Linked DNA regions of Homo sapiens: all the other regions are linked to region 1. Evidence: promoter capture Hi-C in human tissues and cell types (Jung and others, 2019). All regions are on one chromosome and are shown on one strand. The core of a region is centred on a gene start or on the middle of the fragment in contact, and the rest is flanking DNA. Distances in the headings are between cores, read along the strand shown.

Region 1 (2,757 bases), core at 85-2,584:
CGGAGGGTGGCGATGCGCCGCCCCCGCCAGGCCCTAGCTCCCCAGGCGCGTATACATCGTCCATGGGCGGGTGGCCCGCGCCGGCCGCAGGGGTCATGCGCTTCTCCTTCTGCCGCCGGTTGCAGAACCAGACGCGCACCACCTCCTTCTCCAGCTGCAGGCTGTCTGCCAAGCCGGTGATCTCGTGCGCCGAGGGCTTGGGGCACTTGAGAAAGTGGCTCTCGAGCGCGCCTTTGACCCCCACCTCGATGGACGTGCGCTTCTTGCGCTTGCGGCCCTGCGCCGCGATCTTGTCCAGGTTGGTGGGGCTGCCGCTGGACGAGTCGGTCTCCTCCAGCCACTTGTTGAGCAGCGGCTTGAGCTTGCACATGTTCTTGAAGCTCAGCTGCAGGGCCTCGAAGCGGCAGATGGTGGTCTGCGAGAACACGTTACCGTAGAGCGTGCCCAGCGCCAGCCCCACGTCGGCCTGCGTAAAGCCCAGCTTGATGCGCCGCTGCTTGAACTGCTTGGCGAACTGCTCCAGGTCGTCCGAGCTGGGCGCATCCTCGTCCGAGTGCTCGCCCACCGATGAGCCGCCGCCGCCCGCGCCCGGGTGCAGGTGCGCCGCCGCCGCGTGCAGGCCGCCCGCGTGTGCATGTCCGTGTGCGTGTCCGTGGGCGCCCAGATGCGGCGGCGGCGACGGCTCCAGCTGCGCCTCGTGGCCATCCTCGTGCAGCGCGTGGTGCAGGCCCGGCCCCGCGCCGCCACCGCCCGCCGCCAGCATCCCGGCCAGGCCGCCGCCGCCGCCCCCCGGGTAGGCCGCCTGCGCGTACAGCCCGAGCGGCTGGGGCTGGTGGCCCCCGCTGGCCCCGGGCGAGGGCGACATGGCCGGGCCCAAGTGGTGCGCTGTGCTGCCCTGCGCCCATGCCGCGCCCGCGTGGGCCGCCCCCTGGTGCACCAGGCGCGCGTGGAAACCTCCGCCGCCGCCGCCGTCGTCGGCTCGGCCGGTGCCGCCGCCGCCTGCCTTGCCGTGTTCTAGGTGCGGGCCGCCGGCCCAATCGCCGCCGCCGCCTCCTCCCGTGGGTAGCCACTGGGGGTGCGCTAGGCCCACGGGGTGGCCCGCGCCCGCGCCCAGCCACTCGTGGTGCATCAGCTTCTGCACTTCGCGGTACGCGGCCCCTGCATGCAATCGCTCCGCGGCCGCCGCCGCCGCCGCCGCCGCCGCGGCGTCCGGGTGCATAAGCGGCCCGGTGCCCCCGGCTCCGCCACCGGGGCCCCGCGGCAGGTACTGCGCGGTGGTGGCCATGCCGCCCCGCGCCCTGCGCCGCGCCGCCGCCGCCGCTCCGCTCCGTCTGCGGGCCCCGCCGCCTCGCTCCGCCGGCTTAAAGCCCCGACCCGCTCGGCGCTCCGGAGCCCCACCCCGCCCGCCGCCCATTGGCTGCCCGCGGAGCTGCCTCCCGCCTCCCCTGCCCGGCCCCCGCCCCGCGCGCCCGCCCGCCACCCTGCCCGGCCGCCCAGAGCTCTCCATTGGGCGTCGCTCCCGGGGTCCCGCGCGCCGGCCGTGCTGATTGGCCGCTGGGGCTTCATTCACGGCCCCCCTACCGTCCGCGTACACACTCACGCCCCGGGGGCGCGGCCGCCACGTGGGGAGTGGCGCGGGGGTGGCCCTGGGACCGCACCCCCTCTCGTCCTGGCTGTGTGGGCCCCGCTTTCCCCCAGCGCTGGAGACTCCGAGCCCGGCCGGTCCCACATTCCACGCGAGCTGAATTCCCGCCCGCATCCCGCCCGGGCAGCAGGGATTGCCGGCTCCGGGAGGCGCTCGGGCTCCGAGAAGCGGCTCAGCCCCGCGCCCCTCCCTCCTCAGTACCGCTGCCGGCGGACCAGGATTCCCGCGGGTCCTGGCGGCTGCGAGCGCGAGGCGGCGCGGATTCGCGGCTCGGTTCCGGCGCGACTGCTCACCGCGCCCGCCTCGCCTCCCGCGGCTGCCAGCGTGCACTGGGCGCTCCTCGGCGCGTCTGCCCGGCCCGTCTCGGCTTTCCTTCTCCTTCCTCTAGTCCCAGCGTCACAACTCCGCCGACCTCCTCTGCCCTGAGAGCGCGTCCGGTGCGGGCGGAGTCGGACGGACTCTGGCTTCACGCCTCGCGCGGGCACACCTTCTCCCGGGCACTGAGGCCCAGGTGAGTACCGCGCGGGCAGCTGGGGCTGGGACGGCGGGCGGCAGCGGTTCTACAGTCCTACGCGAGCCCCTGGTACCCGGCCGCGCTCCGGGGTTCCAGAAGGAGAAGATCTCGAGGTGGAGACTGTGGCTCCGGGGAAAACGCTGCTGGCAAGGGCGCTAGTTGGGGGTGGACGTTGGGCCCAGGGGTATCTGACCTGCGCCGCTGCAGCCTTCTCGCTCCTTCTCCCAGCTTGAACGGCTCATCGGCTGTGGTCGTGGTGGGATCACGCCCCGGGAGAGGAGAAGGATGGGCTCAGGGAAGGGGCTCGGGCTCTCCAGAAATCCGGCGTGCAGGCCGGGAGCTGTCCAGCCTCGCTAAGAGCCCTGGGCTAGAGTTTGCCCGGACTTGCCTGGAGCTGCTGAAAAGGGAATTGAGATTGAGGAGGCCTTGTTGGAAAGGTGGGCAGTGGAATTTAGCTACCTCCTCACGCCCCAGCCCTTGAGGACTCCCTGAAGGATCTTGAGTGGAGTCGGACCTCACTGCAGTTCCTTTGTGCCTTCTTACCCGACCTTGGGCCCCAGGCTGAGGGTACTGAGCTGTGTTTTCTCCTCTTCCCCAC
Region 2 (2,757 bases), core at 73-2,572, 500 kb after region 1:
AATTTAACAGGTTCAAACCTGGGACTAGATGCCAGTTCTTCCACTTCCAAGTCCATCTTTTTCTTTTGCATTTCTGATTTTTGAGATTGACAGAGCTGATGATTTTGCAAACCAAGGCCAAGGTAAAACTCCCCATCACTTCCACACAGGATGTCTGGGACAGCTTTGCTCTGATTTGTGAGTGTAATCCATACTGGGACTGTCATTGCTTAAGATTCTTAATAGACACGATTGTCAGGTCCAGCTCTCAGGTTCAAAAAGAAAAACTGTTCAAGAACAAGACAGGGAAGGAGAGACTTAGCAGCTACAGCCAATGGGAAAATTCTCAGCAGAGATTTTTCACGGTCATGGAGCTGAGAATGAGTCAGCATTCTAGGTGGGGGTTCTCAGATGCTCCTGGGCTATATTGACACATGTTTCCTGGTGTCTTAAACAGGGATGTGAGGGTCCTGCTCTCATCTGTCACTGGAGCCTAGGCTCATTTTGGGACTCTATACTTCAAGGACGGCACAACCAGCTACAGCCCCTGAGACGGGCTGCAAGTTTGGTGGAAGAGGGTTGGAAGCTGTGTCAAAGGAAGAAGAAAGAAGGATCTGAACTGGGGCTCTTATGGATGGAAAAGCACACAGTTGAGGGACATGATTGCTGTTTCCAAAACTCTGAAGGGCTGTCACAGGAAAGAGTGAGAAGACTTGGACCGTGAGGCCTAAAAGCGCAAACCTAGAGTCAAGAAGTGGAAGGGAGAGTGAGAGTGAGAATGGGAATTCAGAGGCAGAACTCAAATAAGGCGCTTAGGAGCACAAGCTTTGGAGTTAGACAACTTAGATTTGGATCTCCACTTAGCTGTTCCTTAGCCCCTCTGGAAGCATCAGCTTCCTTGTCTGAGGAACAGGAATAATAGCACACCTGCCTCAGAGAGTTCTTGGGAGCATTGACTGAGACAAGCCAGGTAAGGTGCTGAGAACTGAACATATGGAAGTGCCTTATAAATGGTCTTTGTAATAATTATTATTATCAGAGTGTTACTGTTACTTTTATTGCCAGAGCTGTTTAGCAATAGGTTGTGTGCAGATGGTAGCAAGCACCCCTACTCCTACAGATCCGTGTAAGCAGGGGTTCCAAGACTCAGCACTCAGTGAAGATATGGTGAAGTAGATTCAAGCCTTGAGGTGCAAGAAGGACTAAAGAATCTCCAATTATTTGGAATGGAGATTCTATGAATTCTGCCACGAGCCAGAAGTGCCCTTCAGAGGAACATCCCCTTCCCATTTCTGGAGTCTGGGGAGCAACATCATGTGCCTGATGCTCCTGTTTCCAATGAGAGTTACCAAGCCAATCGTTGGGAATAGCCTGGCCTTTGTCCAGCACAGATGAGCAGAGACTGCTCATTTCTTGGCAGTGACCACCAAAGGTGATGAGAACAAAGCACTCAGTGAGGGCCATAGCTCTGCCCACATGAGGTGTGACAATGAGCCAATAAACACCTCTGGGGTGCACTGAAGCAAATGCAGACCGTGAGTATCGAGCAAAATAAACTGGCTGCTGAAGGCCCTGCTGGCAGGGGTTCCCTGTGTTCCATGCATATCTGTGGAAAGCTCAGGGCTTAGCCCAAGTCTAAAGTTGAAGGGGCTCCTGGTAGCAACCTGGAGGAGGGTGGATTAACAAGGGGATGGGTTGGGGTGGGTGAGGGCATGTGCACCCTGAGTGGAGGGGGTTATGGAGGACCATGTTTTCTGGACCAGGCTTGCAGATGTGTACCCAGCCAGCCCTCATCCATGCAGGTCTGAGTCCTAGAGATGTGAGCAGTAGAAAGAAGCTATAATGTGGTTTGCAGAGAGGATATCAGTGAGACATGGGAGTTCGGGGCAGCCTTCTTAGGGCTCATCACAAAGTGCAGCTGCCTGCACGTGGACTTGTGCCATGTGCCTGTGGAAGGAAAATATTCTCCCCACTTCATCAGGACAACTTACGCATGGGTATGAGGGTGGCCAAGGACAATTTCAGGACCATCAACAGGATACTGCACCTATGGTGACAAGCAAACCTGCAGCAATATTGCTTTGCTCATTAATGAATTAGCTAGTTAATTAATTTGATATGGTTTGGCTGTGTCTCCACTCAAATCTCATCTTGAATTGTAGTTTCCGTAATCCCCACATATTGTAGGAGGGACCCAGTGGGAGGTAATTCAGTCATGGAAGTTGTTACCCTGTGCTGCTTTTCTTGTGATAGTGAGTTCTCACAAGATCTGATGGTTTTATAAGGGCTTTTCCCCCTTTTTCTCAGCACTTTCCTTCCTGCCAACGTGTGAAGAAGGACGTATTTGCTTCCCCATCCACCATGATTGTAAGTTTCCTAAGGCCTCCCAGCCCTGCAGAACTGTGAGTCAATTAAACCTCTTTCCTTTATAAATTACCCAGTATCTGGCAGTTCTTTATAGGAGCATGAGAATAAACTAATACATAATTAGGTGATATTTTACTGATTACCTAGTGTGATGGTGAATTTTATGTGTCAACTTGACTGGCCTGCAGGATGCCTAGACCTTTGGTCAAACATTATTCTGGGTGTGTGTGTGTGTGTGTGTGTGTGTGTGTGTGTGTGTGTGTGTGTTTCTAGGTGAAATTAACATTTCAATTGATAGACTGAGTAAAGCAGACTGCCCTCCCTAATGTGAGTGGGCCTCATCCAGTTAGTTGAAAATGTACATAGAACAAAGAGGTTGGGTAAGAGAGAACTTCTGCTACCTGACTGCAT
Region 3 (2,757 bases), core at 123-2,622, 390 kb after region 1:
CAGAGATGGGAGAGAGAGGGATGGGGACATCAGCCAAAAACTGATTAGAGAGACAAAAGGAAAAGGAAAGAAGGACATGAAGAAAGGAAACAGTGAGGATCTAGGGAAGATAGAGGGTGGGAGGGAAGAAAAGTGCTCAGTAAATACAGCTGCCGTTCCCTGCAGTACCTGCAAGGCACTCTGCTCCACAGCCTGTGCCCGCCTACCCACCTCAGTTGGTTAAAACCTCCCACCATGGGCCTGCTTTCAGGGCACACCTGACTCAGACCCCCCAGGCCCCCAACCCTTCCCTGACCAGGACTTTGCAGGAGCAGTGCACTCCATCCCCAGGAGGCAAGCCTGCTACAATTTATTGCCCAGAAAATCCATAATCTCTCCCTGGGACATGAGGCCTCAAAACCCATTCCTGCATGCATAACCAGAAAAGAGAAGACCTTGGCTAGGCAGGGTGGCTCATGCCTATAATCCCAGCACTTTGGGTGGCCAAGGCAGGTGGATCACTTGAGGTCAGGAGCTCGAGACCAGCCTGGCCAACATGGTGAAATCCCATCTCTACTAAAAATACAAAAATTAGCCAGGCATGTTGGCACATTCTTGTAATCCCAGCTACTTGGGAGACTGAGGCAGGAGAATCGCTTGAACCCAGGAGGTGGAGGTTGCAGTGAGCTGAGATCGTGCCACTGCATGCCAGCCTGGGCGACAAAGCAAGACTCCGTCTCAAAAAGAAACAAAAAACAAACAAACAAACAAAACAAAACAAAAAAGACCTGGAGCATCCATCTTCAAGTCTCTAATGGGCAGCCTTATGACACAAAGTCTCTGTGCAGATCCAAGGCCAGGAATATGACCGATAATTAGGCACCACACAGAGAGATCTTTGTTAAGGAAAAAAAAATGCTAATTGATCTGCCACAGATGAAATTTGCTGTTTCAGGAGCTGGTGAGTTCCCCATTACAGGAGAACTCATGCAAGCAGAGGCTGGAAACCAAACCTACCTGTGATTGAGCTGAATGAGCCCAGATCTCTTCTATGCTTCCGATTTCTCCTAAAACCTTTGAAAAGTAGCTTTTAAATCCATCATTACTCTTAAAATCTTCCTCTATTTATGTGATTAGAAAACTCCTTCCATCACATATATAGTTCAAGGAGAAAGTTCATCCAAGTCCCCATTCAAATGATCACAAATTCTGAATCAGTGGGTTTTGAATTAGTGGGGTTTCCCGGGAGAATTTAAATGTTCCACCCAGGAGACATGAAGAAGAAGGTTCTCGCCTTCTCTGGGAACACAGCCCAAGAAAAGAAGAGGAGATGGCAGGCAGGCTGCCTCTTGTGCATTCCAATAGACCCGCTGCCTCTCAGAATCTCAATGTTCCAGCCCCAGAACAGTTGGTGAAGATGGGATTTCAGGGAAGGAGTGAAAGCAGAACTGCCAGTCATTCAAGCATCCGGTGCTGGGGAGGGTGGTTTCTCCAGGGGATGTGCCAAGTCCGGGGCCCTGACCCTTCCTGCAGGCTTCCATCAAATGTCATCACTTCCACGAGGCCTGACCTGACCCTTGCTTCAATAACTCGGACAGTACCCTGAGCTTCCTGCATACACAGCGCTTTCATCCTGGCTAGTTACTATCTGTCTCCCTGCACCACTGGGACAGAAGTCATGCTTGGGGCCCTTACTATCTGGAATGGAAACACTTCATGAGGTTACAGGGACCACAGGCAGCAGGAGTTGCCCATTTCCTCTTGCTCCTTGGATGCTGAGTGCTTTTTTTTTTTTTTTTTTGAGACGGAGTTGTGCTCTTTTTGCCCAGGCTGGAGTGCAATGGAGCGATCTTGGTTCACTGCAACCTCTGCCTCCCGGGTTCAAGTGATTCTCCTGACTCAGCCTCGCGAGTAGCTGGGACTACAGGCGCCCACCAACACGCCCGGCTAATTTTTGTGTTTTTACTAGAGATGGGGTTTCACTATGTTGGTCAGGCTAGCCATGAACTCCCGACCTCGTGATCCACCCACCTCGGACTCCCAAAGTGCTGGGATTACAGGCGTGAGCCACCGCGCCCGGCCAAGTGCTTTTTGATCTAACCAGTTGTGGGTTACTTTTAGAGCTTTGCTTTATCTCCACCTCTGAGCCTCACTTGACCCATTTCTGGTTGCCTGCTTCTTATTCTCAGAACTGTCTTTTGTCCCCCTCCCGCCTACTGGCTCAGATAACCTTCCCTTAGGGTTCCAGCCTCCTTGGGATTTGCCCAGCCCCTGCACTGCCTAATGAGGGCTCTTCACCTGTCTGGGTTCTTCCTTTTCTGCCAGGGCAGTCCTACTTGCTCATACTCTGGGCCAGCCCAAGAATTCTCCCTCTGTCCTCCAACTGTCCTGACATGCTGAGAATTCCATGGAGGCAGAAACTGTGTCTCACCCCTCTCCGGATCCCCGACCCCTACAACAGTTGCCTACAGCAAGGAGCTCAGTGAAAAAAAAAAAATGTCAAATTAAAATTGAACTGAAAGGCAAAGAAAAGTAAATGCTTTCTTCTGTAATGCAAGATTTTAGGAAGGAGGGCTTAAGACAAATCAGGGGAGTGGACTAAAAGATTTATTGTTTACAGTTTCCCTCCCCCTCTCCTAAACAATCATTCATTGGACCCTACAGTTATGTATTAAAATGGCCCTCAGGGATGACCAGCAGTGGCCAAGGCCCTGGCCCAGCTTGATGCATGCATGGGTTGCACCACAGGGGAGCACCTGCCTCTGAGCCTCCCTCTCT
Region 4 (2,757 bases), core at 190-2,689, 350 kb after region 1:
AAATAATTCCACTTCAACTTGGCAGCTTAACGAAAAAATAAAAATTTAAAAAGTGAAATAAGCCATGCACAGAAAGACAAATACCACATGATCTCACTTATATGTGGGATCTAAAAAAGACAAACTCATCAAAGCAGAGATGAAAATGGTGGTTACCAGGAGTTGGGCACAGGAGGAGGGAGGAATTGGAAAATGTTGGTCAAAGGATACAGATAGGAGAAATAAGTTCAAAAGATCTATTGTATATCATGGTGACTATATTTAACGACAGTTATTGTATAACTGAAAATTGCGAAGGCAGTAGATTTTAAGTGTTCTCACCACAAAAAATGGATAAGTATGAAAGTAAGACACGTTAATTAGCTTGATTTAACCATTCCACATTGTAAACATATGTCAAAACATCATGTTATATACCATAAATATATATAATTTAAATTTGTCAATATTAAAAAATAAATATTTCTAAAAGAAGAAATGCTAAAGGAAATTCTCTATGCTAAAGAGAAATGAGACCATATGGAAATTCAGCTCTACAGAAAGGAATAAAGGGCACTAGAAATGATAACTTTGTAGGAAAATACAAAAGAAATTTTTCCTTCTTTTCTTAATTATTTAAAACATGAATTGATAGGACTTCTACTTCTAGCCAGTATGGGGTAGCAGGGGCTGAATTTAACCTCCAATCTGAAACAATTTCTTTTTAAGCTGAACAAAATATATGAAAAAATAGCTGTGAAAATATTAGGCACCAGGTAATGAAGGACAGCAATCCCTAAATGACAGGAAACAAATATAGCCCTATTATTGACCTGGTTTACCTCCTGAAGGAAGTTTGCAGACCATCACAAGGAAGGCAGATCCATGGCAGAGGCTGGCAATATCCCTGAGTTGAGGAGGCACAAATGGAAGTTGAGAAAAACAAAGAATCTAGAGTTCCCAATGTAGTGTATTTAAAAGAAGAGCTGCACACAGGGAAAACTTCAGAAATCTACAGAAGCTTCCCTTGAGTATTCAATAGAATAATCATCAGCACATGCATATGAACAACTAGTCTAAAAAAATAACTCAAAAGATTAGAGGAAACAGTGCTACGCTCACAAGAATAGGAAGGGTCTATTCCCAATAGCCAGAGTAGAATACTTCATAAGTCATAGGACATCAGTTAGAGTACTGAGCAGGGTCTTCCCTCAGTAGTGGGAAAAATTAACCCTAGACTAAATGCTGCTGGTCCCTGATAATTGAGCTTAAAGCAAGAACCAAAAGTATTAAGCTATTTGAAAGTAATGTGTATCTCCAAATAAACCTCAAGAATAATTTTAGGAATACAAAAATATTCAGCACCCAACAAGGTAAAATTCAAAATATATGGCATCCATAAAAAAAATTATCAGGCATTCAAAGAACTAGAAAAATAAAACCTATAATGAGGAGAAAAATCAATCAAAACTGACTCAGAAATGACACAAATGATAGAATTAAGAGACAAGCATATTAAAACAGTCATTATAACTGTATTCTATATGTTCACCAAGCTAGAGAAAATATTGAACATTAAGTAGAGACATGGAAGATATTAGAAAAACTGAAACCAAACTTCTAGAGAAGAAAACAACCATGTCTGAGATAAAAAAAAAAAATACAATGAATGGGAAATAGCAGATTAGACATTTCAGAGGAAAGGAGTAGTAAACTTGAAGACATAGCAATAGAAACTACCCAAAATAAAGTACACAGAGGAAAAGACACACATAAAAAAAAAAACACACAGAGCAACAGTGACAACTTCAAGTGGCCAAATCTATGTGTAAGTGGGGTTCCCAAAAGAAAGGGAGGACAGAAAAGTATTTAAGGAAATAGTGACCAAATGTTTCAAATTCGATAAAAATTATAAGTTCACAGATTCAAGAAGGTCAGTGAACACCAAAACCAGGAAATTAAAAAAAAAAATACACAAACGCATATCAGAATCAAGTAGCTTTAAATCAGTGACAAAGATAAAATTGGAAAAGTAGAGGAGATGCTCTACATGCAGGGCAATGAAGATAAGGAGGATAGCAGATTTCTTGTCAGAAACAATGCAAACTAGAAGACAGTGGCTCAAAATCTTTAAAATTCTGTAAGAAAAGAAAATGTCAACCTGGAACTCTCTACTAAGAAAAAATTATTTTAAAAGTTAAGGCAAAATAAATACTTCTTTAGACATACAGAAGCTGAAAGAGTTAATCACAAGCAGACTGGTGGAATAGAAAATGTAAAGGGAAGTCCTTCAAGCAGGGGGAAAAAAAGGATAATATCAGATGGAAACCTAGATATATTAGGGGTCAGCAAATTATGGCCCATGAGCCAAATCTGACCTGCTGCCTCTTTTTGTGAATAAAGTTTTATTGGAACACAGCCATACCTATTCATTTATTTGTTGCCCATGGATGCTTTCATGCTACAATGACAGGATTGAATAATTGTAACAGAAACCACATGGTCTAGAGTATTTATTACCTGGCCCCAACAGAAAAAGTTTTCTGACCCTTGATCTCCACAAAGTATTGAGCAGCACAGGACATGGTATTACATAAGTAGATTTGTAATAATGATAATGATAATAATAATAATTTCATTTATTATTTAAATATCTTCAAAAATAATCATCTGTTTAAGGCATAATAGCAACATATTATGAGATATATAAAATATGTAGAAGTGAAATGTATGATAACAATGCCCAAAGGCCAGTAGGGAAAAACTAGAGTATACATG

The links. Contacts are between HindIII fragments. The study calls those that stand out against the background at their distance.
Region 2: a contact is called between a fragment that was not itself captured here and the fragment with the promoter of POU3F1 in region 1, in 1 of the 25 tissues and cell types used here (dorsolateral prefrontal cortex).
Region 3: a contact is called between a fragment that was not itself captured here and the fragment with the promoter of POU3F1 in region 1, in 2 of the 25 tissues and cell types used here (dorsolateral prefrontal cortex and mesendoderm cells).
Region 4: a fragment that was not itself captured here is called in contact with the fragment with the promoter of POU3F1 in region 1 in 1 of the 25 tissues and cell types used here (lymphoblastoid cells).

What each region holds. Positions count from the first base shown.
Region 1 is chr1:38,045,459-38,048,215 of GRCh38, forward strand. It overlaps POU3F1 (POU class 3 homeobox 1), which reads right to left and starts at 1,335. Exons shown (of 1, transcript NM_002699.4): 1 at 1-1,335. The coding sequence starts at 1,285. It overlaps MIR3659HG (MIR3659 host gene), which reads left to right and starts at 1,676. Exons shown (of 5, transcript NR_168386.1): 1 at 1,676-2,156. RefSeq lists a silencer at 1,396-1,725 and enhancers at 1,638-2,138, 2,139-2,639. The HindIII fragment of the contact is 7,503 bases long and covers 1-2,757 here.
Region 2 is chr1:38,541,085-38,543,841 of GRCh38, forward strand. No RefSeq gene overlaps it. Among named protein-coding and RNA genes, the nearest start is that of LINC01685, 67 kb to the left of the region's middle. The HindIII fragment of the contact is 3,741 bases long and covers 1-2,757 here.
Region 3 is chr1:38,431,874-38,434,630 of GRCh38, forward strand. The region is part of intron 2 of LOC105378657 (a long non-coding RNA gene); the gene reads right to left. The region is part of intron 2 of LOC107984943 (a long non-coding RNA gene); the gene reads right to left. Among named protein-coding and RNA genes, the nearest start is that of LINC01685, 42 kb to the right of the region's middle. The HindIII fragment of the contact is 5,970 bases long and covers 1-2,757 here.
Region 4 is chr1:38,399,349-38,402,105 of GRCh38, forward strand. The region is part of intron 2 of LOC105378657 (a long non-coding RNA gene); the gene reads right to left. Among named protein-coding and RNA genes, the nearest start is that of LINC01685, 74 kb to the right of the region's middle. The HindIII fragment of the contact is 3,935 bases long and covers 1-2,757 here.